Linked DNA regions of Homo sapiens: region 2 is linked to region 1. Evidence: promoter capture Hi-C in 16 types of primary human blood cells and fetal thymus (Javierre and others, 2016). All regions are on one chromosome and are shown on one strand. Each heading gives the region's core, a stretch centred on a gene start or on the middle of the fragment in contact. The rest is flanking DNA. Distances are from core to core; before and after follow the strand shown.

Region 1 (4,993 bases), core at 871-3,370:
CGACTTCAAGAGATATCAGTCAAATCCCCAGGATTTGGTGATGGAGGGGATGAAGGAAACCAGGAGAGAAGCATCAGGATGGCCCCAGGTTTCTGGCTTTCATAATTGAATGGATGTGGTGCTATCATCTGAGACAGAAAGTGATGGGAGATGTCTCCACACTGGGGCATGAAGACTCGGCCAGTTTGGGGCAGGTTGACTTTGAGGTCCCCTGTGAGTGACAACCAAAAGGGGTGTCAAGTAGACAACAGAAAATAAGAGTCTGGAGTGCAGAAGAGAGGTCTGGCTAGAGATCAGCTTTGTAAGCCATCTGTTTATTGGTGGTCATTTAAGCCTGGGTGCTAACAAGATCCTAAGGGAGAAAGCTTAGGGTGGGAATAGGAAGTTTAAGATCAGGCTTTAGGAATCCTAACATTTAAGACCGAGTAAAAGAGGTTGAGATTACAAAGGAACCCAAGAAGCCAGAGATGTTAACAATGGCTGTGGAATGCTATGAAAGTATTTTACATTTGTAGCTACTTTTACAATTGAATAAAAATGTTTAGTTTAAAAAGCCAATTTTTTTATGGCTTCTAGAACTTAATTCACTTTCTGGATTTTGAAAAATAGTGCCTGAGGGCAAGAGGTGATAGTCAAAATATTTAACTATCAAGATACCCCAGTAGGACACTTTCGCCTGAGCCAGCTGGAGGAGGGAGGATCTCAGAGGCCTTTGCTGTGCCACAGGCATTAACCCTGTGGTTGCTGGATCATGAAGAAGTGGAGAGAGGCTGATGGCAGGGGCCACGCGGAGAGGATCTCAGGACAGCATCTGTTTAGTCACTGAGCAGAACCAGTGCCTGCTGCTGAGAATCAGTCCTGCAGCAGGGTCATCACCAGCTGGATCCCACCAGATCCTTCCCCACCATCTCCACCTACTCATTGCCCCCCAGAGTTCTCCACCACAATGGACTATTCCTCATTTCCTTAGAACACCTCACCTTTTCATGCCTCCATGAACTTCCCTACGCCTACAATGCCTTTCTTCTAGTTTGGCAAATTTCTGTGTGTATTTGAATGTCCAGGTAAAATATCACCTCTTCTGTAAAGTCGTCATTGACTTCACCAGGCAGAATCAATTGCTTCTTCATTATTTTTCCATGCATTTTATGCAGACTTAGTATAGCACTTTGCAAAGTGGTGAGCTCCTTGAGGACTAGGACTGCCTCATTTGTATCTAAAATAATGTCCTGTGTATGGGTACTTTAAAAAAATGACAAAGGGCCGGGCGCAGTGGCTCATGCCTGTAATCCCAGCACTTTGGGAGGCCGAAGCAGGTGGATCATGAGGTCAGGAATTTAAGATCGGCCTGGCCAAGACGGTGAAACCTCGTCTCTACTAAAAATAGAAAAAAATTAGTGGGGCATGGTGGCAGGCACCTGTAATCCCAGCTACTCGGGAGGCTGAGGCAGAGAATTGCTTGAACCTGGGAGGCAGAGATTGCAGTAAGCCGAGATTGCGCCACTGCACTCCAGCCTGGGCGACAGAGCGAGATTCCATCTCAAAAAAAAAAAGAAAGAAAGAAAGAAATGACAAAGATTGTTGAATGAATCTCAATGTGACTGAAACCTCAAAAAGAGACCTAGAACATCCTTTTTTTTTTTTTTTTTTTTTTGAGATGGGGCCTCTTTATGTTGCCCAGGCTGTTCTGGAACTCCTGAACTCAAGGGATCCTCCCACTTTGGTATCCCAAAGTGCTGGAATTTACAGATGTGAGCCACTGCACCTCGCCTAGACCATCTTTTCCCTCAATTTGTTATTAAAACTCAGCAACCTCACTGACACATGCTATGCCATGGATAAAACTTGAAAACATCATGTTAAGAGTGAAAGAGGCCAGTCACAAAGAACCACATATTATAGGATTCTATTGATATGAAATGCCCAGAATTGGCAAACCCACAGAGAGGACAGAAAGTAGTAAATTAGTGATTGCCTAGGGCTGAGGGGGTTGGGGAGAAAAACGGAGTGATTGTGAGTGGGTACAGGATTTCTTTGTGAGGTGATGAAGTGTTCTAAAATTGATTGTGATGTCTCACAATTCTGTGAATCTACTAAAAACCATTGCATTGTACACTTCAAATGGTGCCAGACGTGGTGGTATGAGCCTGTAATTCCAGCCACTCAGGAGGCTGAGGTGGGAGGATCACTCTGGCCTAGGAGTTTGAGATCAGCCTGGGTGACAGAGCAAGACCCTGTCTCTAGAAAAGAGAAAGAATAAATGGGTAAGTTGTATGATATATGAATTATATCTCAATAAAACTGATTTTTTTTCTTTAGAGACAGGGTCTTGCTCTGTCACCCAGGCTGGAGTGCAGTAGTGCAATCATAGCTCACTGCAGCCTCGAGCTCCTGGGCTCAAGCAATCCTCCCGTCTAGGCCTCCCACAGTATTAGGATTACAGGTGTGAGCCATTGCACCTAGCCCAGAATTGATTTTTAAAAAACACCTCAGCAACTCCTCTTACTTCATCTAATTCAAAGGGAGGGCTTAAATGTTTCCTTCTTGGAAGGAAGGTGGACCCAATGGGAGTGAGTATGGAGGGGTATAGGCAGGGGTGCTGCTGTGGTCAGCTTGGGAAAGATAGGGCATACGTGGAAAGCAGGCTGAGTGCTGTTAATATAATGGGCTGAGAATACTTCAGAAAGAGGGGTTCTGGTGAAAACGGAAACCACTTCAATGAAACCAGATTGCAGCAGAAAGGCTGAGGTTACTGTGAGAACAGTGAAGTTTTACTTTGAAACCAATGGCTGAGTGTGGTCTCCTCATCTGGCCTGGGAATCTTCTAGGAGGAAAGAATTGTTATCTAGGAGAGGATTAAAATTCTGATAGATGAGGCTGGGCGCAGTGGCTCACGCCTGTAATCCCAGCACTTTGGGAGGCCGAGGTGGGTGAACCACGAGGTCAGGAGTTTGAGACCAGCCTGGCCAACATGGTGAAACCCCCGTCTCTACTAAAAATACAAAAATTAGCCGGGTGTGGTGGTGCACGCCTGTAATCCCAGCTACTCAGGAGGCTGAGGCAGGATAATAGCTTGAACCTGGGAAGCAGAGGTTGCAGTGAGCCGAGATGGGCCACTGCACTCCAACCTGGGCGACAGAGCAAGACTGTGTATGGAAAAAAAAAAAAAAATTCTGGGCTGGGCGGGTGGCTTACAACTGTAATCCCAGCACTTTGGGAGCCCAAAGCGGGTGGATCACAAGGTCAAGAGACCGAGACCATCCTGGCCAACATGGTGAAACCCCGTCTCTACTAAAAATACAAAAATTAGCCGGGCGTGGTGGCATGTGCCTGTAATCTCAGCTACTCAGGAGGCTGAGGCAGGAGGATCACTTGAACCCGGGAGGCGGAGGTTGCAGTGAGCCAGGATTACGCCACTGCACTCCAGCCTGGCAACAGAGTGAGACTCCGTCTCAAAAAAAAAAAAAAAATTCTGATAGCTGTTGCCTAGAAACCCAGCAACCATAAAGTAGAAAGCTTGAAAGGGGGGCTGCTCTCCTTTTGCCCTAGTTGGACTCTCCTGAGAGGTGATAAATCCTAGTACCGCGCATGAGGACTCTGGAGATGGCTGCCTGGGTTCGAACCCTGACTCTTTGCATTTGGAGCTGCATTGCCTCGTGCAAGTCACTCAATCTGTCTGTGCCTCCATTTTCTCTACTGTTAAATGGGGCTAGTGATACTACCTTCCTCATAGGATTCTTGGGAGGATTAACTCAGACAACACATGAATAATTTAGCACAGTGTTGGTCTGGCATGGTGGCTCATGCTTGTAATCCCAGCACTTTGGGAGGCTGAGGCGGGTTGATCACTTGAGGTTAGGAGTTTGAGACCAACCCGGCCAACATGGTGAAACCCCATCTCTATTGAAAGTACAAAAAATTAGCCAGGCGTAGTGGCGGGCGCCTGTAATCTCAGCTACTCGGGAGGCTGAGGCAGGAGAACTGCTTGAACCCGGGAGGCAAAGGTTGCACAGTGAGCTGAGATTGAGCCACTACACTCCAAACTGGGGGACAGAGCAAGACTCCATCTCAAACAAAAAAAAAAAAGGCCGGGCACGGTGGCTCACGCCTGTAATCCCAACATTCTGGGAGGCCGAGGCAGGCGGATCACGAAGTCAGGAAATCAAGACCATCCTGGCCAACATGGTGAAACCCCATCTCTACTAAAAACAATACAAAAAGTAGCCGGGCGTGGTGGTGGGCGCCTGTAATCCCAGCTACTCGGGAGGCTGAGGCAGGAGAATCGCTTGAACCTGGGAGGCGGAGGTTGCAGTGAGCCGAGATCACACCACTGCACTCCAGCCTGGGCGACAGAGCGATACTCCATCTCAAAAAAAAAAAAAACAAAAGCAAAAACAGAAAAAGCACAGTGCTTGATCGTGGAGGCACTAATAGGAGGCAGTCTCTGGAGTGAGAATCTGGAACTGTGAAACTGGTTGCTGGAGAAGCGGCTGATGCCTGCTAGCCTGGGGTGAGATCTAATATTAGGCAAAGAGACAGCAGCTGGCTGGGGGTCAGGGTGTTGGCTGGGAAATGGCCTGAAAATTGTTAACAGCCTCCTGGCTTAACCCTGCCAGTAGGGCTCATACTTCCTGTTTTCAGTGTCTCTGAGCCCTGATGCTGGAGCTGCTCAAGTTTGAACAAGATCTTTCTTGGCCCCTGAGGGGAAGGCAGAAACTGAACAGCCACTCGGCTTGGGCAGCTTCCTAGCAGGTTTCCACTCCCGCAAAATAGTGCAGTTCTGAGGTGGGAGAGGGCAGAGGGTTCCCATCTGATCTGATGCTACAATAATTTACTTAGCTTTGTAATAATAACCACCGTTTTTATGCTTTTATTAGGTGCCAGTATTATGCTAAAGGACTTATGAACTCATGAATCCTTTCTGTTGTTGTTGTTGTTGTTGAGACGAAGTCTTGCTCTCTGTTGCCCAGGATAGAGTGCAGTGGTGTGATCT
Region 2 (4,993 bases), core at 1,494-3,993, 110 kb before region 1:
CTATTTTCCAAAGAGGCTAAACCATTTAACATTCGCAGCAGCTACATGAGAGGGTTCCAACTTCTCAATATCCCTGGCAACACTTGTTATTATCTTTTTAATTACAGCCCTCCTACTGAAGCGGTATCTCATTGTGGTTTTGACCTGATGGCTAATGATGCTGAGCATCTTTTTATGGGTGTATTGACCATTTATATATCTACTTTTGAGAAATGTCTATTCAGATACCTTGCCAATATATATATATATATATATATTTTTTTTTTTGAGACCGAGACTTACTTTGTTACCCAGGCCGGAGTACAGTGGTGCAATCTGGGCTCACTGCAACCTCCGCCTCCCGGGTTCAAGCGATTCTCCTGCTTCAGCCTCCCAAGTAGCTGGGACTACAGGCATGAGCCACCATGCCTGGCTAATTTTTGTATTTTTTTGGTAGAGACAGGGTTTCATCATGTTGGCCAGGCTGGTCTCAAACTCCTGACCTCAGGTAATCTGCCTGCTTCGGCCTCCCAAAGTGCTGGGATTATAGGCATGAGCCACTGTGCCTGGCCCCTTGCCAATATTTTGAGTTATTTATCTTTTGCAAATATTTTTCCCAGTCTGTGGGTTGTCTTTCCCTTTCTTGATAGTGTCCTTTGCAGCACAAGCTTTTAATTTTGATAAAGGCCAATTTAAGACTAAAATATAGCTTGTCTTTTCCTTTTTCTTTTTTTTTTTTTTTTTTTTATTCTGAAACAGAGTCTCTGTTGCCCAGACTAGAGTGCAGTGGCATGATCACAGCTCACCACAGCCTCTACCTCTTCAGGCTCAGGTGATCCTCCCACCTCAGCCCCCTGAGTAGCTGGAAGTACAGGTGTATACAACCACACCCGGCTTTTTTTTTTTTTTTTTTTTTTTTTTTTGAGATGGAGTTTTGCTCTTGTTGCCCAGGTTGGAGTGCAATGGCGTGATCTTGGTTCACTGCAACCTCTGCCTCCCAGGTTCAAGTGATTCTCCTGCCTCAGCCTCCCAAGTAGCTGGGATTACAGGCACGCACCACCACGCCTGGCTAATTTTGTATTTTTAGCAGAGACTGGGTTTCTCCACGTTGGTCAGGCTGGTCTGGAACTCCTGACCACAGGTGATCCGCCCGCCTCGGCCTCCCAAAGTGCTGGGATTACAGGCATGAGCCACCGTGCCGGGCCACACTCGGCTAATTTTTAGTATTTTTTGTAGAGACAGGGTTTCACCATGGTGACCAGGCTGATCTCGAACTTCTGGGCTCAAGTAATCTGCCTGCGGGGCCTCCCAAAGTGCTGGGATTGCAGCCCAGCTTGTCTTCTTTTGTTGTTTGTGATTTTGGTTGCTTGTGCTTTTTTCCTGTTGTTTTGTTTTGTCTTTTGCTACTTGTGCTTTTGGTGTAACACTTAAGAAGGCTTCATCTAACCTGAGATCATGAAGATTTACTCCCATGTTTTATTCTAAGAATTTTATAGTTTTAGCTCTTATAGTTAGGTCTGTGATCCATTTGGAGTCAATTTTTGTGTATGGTATAAGAAAAGGTCGTCATTTTTTTTAAACTGGAGAAAACCAAGCATACTGATAGGCTACAGGACAAGAGGCAGGAAATAGATTTCTTCTGAAGTCAGATCCCTGAAGAGACAGGGTAAGAATCTGGAGAGAGATACAGAGACTAACCTTTACCAGGAGGAAAGCCACTCTTACCCTAGACAAGGGGGGTGGTGGGGGAAGCAAGTGGAGATGGTGACCTAACTGTAACTGTGGGGTAATGGGCTATATCTTCTTAGGAATTTACAAGGCACATTAGCATAATTGAGGATCTATGATAACCTTCAGTCAGGAAATGTGTTCAGTTTTGTTTAATCCATCATTTTCCAAATTCATGTGACCAAGAATTCCTTATTTCTTAGCACCTATTAATATATGACAGAATTAGGATTTCTAGGACATATGTAGGAAACAGTGATCTAGGCCAAGAGCTGCAAATTAGTGGATTTTGTGTAGAATTTGGGGCAAGGATGGTTTTTGTTTGGTCCACATAGTATTTTTAACCCATTTGTGCCAGAGGTTGCAATTTTTTTGTGTGAAAAATCAGACCTTGGCGATGACCTTGAGCAGTAGGATATAAATAACTCCCACAAGCTTAGCGTTCCAATAATGGAACACTATGCATAAATGAGTTGAAAATCAAGAAATTTCACAAAGATCCAAATTTCTGACATCTCTTAAATCTTAGAAGGTCTGGCAGCAATTTGGATCTGCATTCCATCAAGGAAAAACATTACTGGAACCCAAATGTCCCAAACAGCGCATTTGTACCATGTCCACACTCATAATCTTAATCCCAATTCATTTTACTCATTTATGTCACCACCTGATTCCTGTAACTGAGTTTATCATTTCTATACTAAGCAACCCTCTCAGACGGAAAAGTTCCTGAAGCCATTCTCAGAAACTCCTTATGCATAAACTCCTCTCCCAACATTTTCTTTAATAAATGTGCTCTTCTTGTAAGAGCTATGAGAAAGATTGAGAAGCATTTATGTCAGGAGTGACAAAAAATGCCAGTGTATGGGCCAAGTGCAACACACAGACTATTTTGTTTGACCTGCACAGTATTTTTTAACATGAGAAATTTCACATTAAAAAGAAACAGACTTCTGGGACTTTCTTGACAATTAGGAAGATTTGGTAACATTAGCCCCTGTTTCCATGTGACAACAGTAAGTTGAAGATGGTAGTAACTTCTTCAGTTAGGGCCGGCATTTTCCAGTTAACCACAGTTGCCATCACTCCCCAGTGCTTATAACTGGCCTGATTCACTCATTGCCTATTTGGCTCCTAAGGCATCAGAATTTGTACCACCTGATTAAACAAACAACCTTAATTAGCACAGTGCATTAGGCAAACATCTCAATATCATGAGTGTTAAGTGAAATTTTACTGAAGCCTCAGCTATTTCACTAATAAGGAAACATCCCACTCTCTCCCAAATATATATCCACATTGAAAAAATAACTGGAAGCAAACATACCATGGGAAGTAGAATTTCAGGTGATTTTTATTTTCTTCTTAATCCTTTTCTATACTTTTTCCAGAGTATTTTTTTTAAATCAACTATGTATTGCCTTCATAATCAGAAAAAAACACAAATTAAATTCTAAAATGCATCAACAATATTCTTCATAAATAAAGTCATGAGAAACCTCTAGGGCCTAAAGGTCAAAATTTTAACCAATTGCCCAAAATATTAATTTAAATGTGCATCAATGAGAACACAATCACATAGGCTAGGCAGCAGATGAACCATGTCAGTGGCAAGTTCTGATGTCAAGCAAGCTTATCTGATGCCACATAGTTTCCTTAGAACCAATGTTAAGCTTCCTTGGCAGCAGCTGTTTATTCTAACCCAATATGAGACTCAGTCTGTCAGTTAAGGCTACATAAATGTTAGCAGAGCAACCTTGCTCACCAGATCCCCATTTATGAAGATACCATGACTAAGCTTCTAATGTGCAAACACTTCATCCTCCCCCTCAACTCAAGATTCTTCTGGCCAGGCGCAGTGGCTCACGCCTGTAATCCCAGCACTTTGGGAGGCTGAGGCAGGGGGATCATGAGGTCAGAAGATCGAGACCATCCTGGCTAACACAGTGAAACCCCGTCTCTACTAAAAATACAAAAAATTAGCCGGGCATGATGGTGGGCGCCTGTAGTCCCAGCTACTAGGGAGGCTGAGGCAGGAGAATGGCATGAACCCAGGAGGCGGAGCTTGCAGTGAGCCGAGATCACGCCACTGCACTCCAGCCTGGGTGATAGAGCGAGACTCCATCTCAAAAAAAAAAAAAATTCTTCTGTATGGAGGCACGCCTGTAATCCCAGCACTTTGGGAGGCCGAAGTGGGTGGATCACTTGAGGCCAAGAGTTTGAGACCAACCTAGCCAACATGGTGAAACCCCATCTCTACTCAAAATACAAAAATCGGCTGGGCATGGTGGCACCTAGCTGTAGTCCCAACTACTCCAGGGGCCTCCCAAAATGCTGGGATTACAGGCATGAGCCACTGTGCCCAGCCTAAAGTTTCCATTTTAGTTGCAAACATACATAAGCAAATGCTATGTAACAGAACTCAAAGGTCCCACATCTCCCACCTTTTAGTCCTGACTAGTGACAGGAAATCAAGCAATAATTATGGGAAAATAAAATGAACACCTTTTACTAATAATCTCCTCTAGTTTTTCCAGTGTTCTTAGTTATTAAAAAGATTACTTGCCAGGCGCCATAGCTCACGCCTGTAATCCCAGCACTTTGGGAGGCCAAGGTGAGTGGATCACCTGAGGTCAGGAGTTCGAGACCAGCCTGGCCAACGTGGTAAAACCCCGTCTCTATTAAAAATACAAAAATTAGTTGGGCATGGTGGTGGATGCTTGTAATCCCAGCTACTTGGGAGGCTGAGGCAGGAGAATTGCTTGAACCCGGGAGGCAGAGGTTGCAGTGAGCCAAGATCACGCCATTGCACTCCAACCTGGGTGACAAGAGCGAAACCCTGTCTCAAAAAAAAAAAAAAAAAAAAGATTACTTAAGGCTGGGAGCAGTGGCTCACACCTATAATTCCAGCATTTTGGGAAGCCAAGGCTGGAAGATCACTTGAAGCCAGGAGTTTGAGACCAGCCTGGGCAACATAGCAAGACCCTGTCTCTACAAAAAATAAAAAAAATAAAAAATTAACTAGGTGTGGTGGCTCTTGCCTGTAGTCCTAGCTACTTGGGAGGGTGATCCAGGAGAATCACTTGAGCTGAGAAGATCGAGGCTGTAGTAAGCTATGATTGCACCACTGCACTCTGGCCTGGGCAACAGGGGGAGATCCTGTCTTAAAAAACAAAAACAAACAAAAAAACCCTCAGTCTTATTCCCACTAGTTATAATTAAGTAACCTTTACATATTCATAAATACCGATAAAGAGGAAAACATCACTGGATGATCTGAATATAA

What was found. Contacts are between HindIII fragments. The CHiCAGO score rates a contact against its expected background, and 5 or more counts as called.
Region 2: a fragment that was not itself captured here is called in contact with the fragment with the promoter of C10orf55 in region 1 in 1 of 17 cell types (monocytes); the score reaches 5.2 in monocytes.

Annotation. Positions count from the first base shown.
Region 1 is chr10:73,919,904-73,924,896 of GRCh38, reverse strand. C10orf55 (chromosome 10 putative open reading frame 55) reads left to right here and starts at 2,120. Exons shown (of 5, transcript NR_160938.1): 1 at 2,120-2,264. RefSeq lists enhancers at 3,430-4,076, 4,077-4,725. The HindIII fragment of the contact is 3,151 bases long and covers 368-3,518 here.
Region 2 is chr10:74,027,974-74,032,966 of GRCh38, reverse strand. All of the region lies in intron 1 of VCL (vinculin), which reads right to left. LOC124902455 (a long non-coding RNA gene) reads right to left here and starts at 4,352. Exons shown (of 2, transcript XR_007062197.1): 1 at 3,035-4,352; 2 at 1-2,865. The HindIII fragment of the contact is 1,197 bases long and covers 2,145-3,341 here.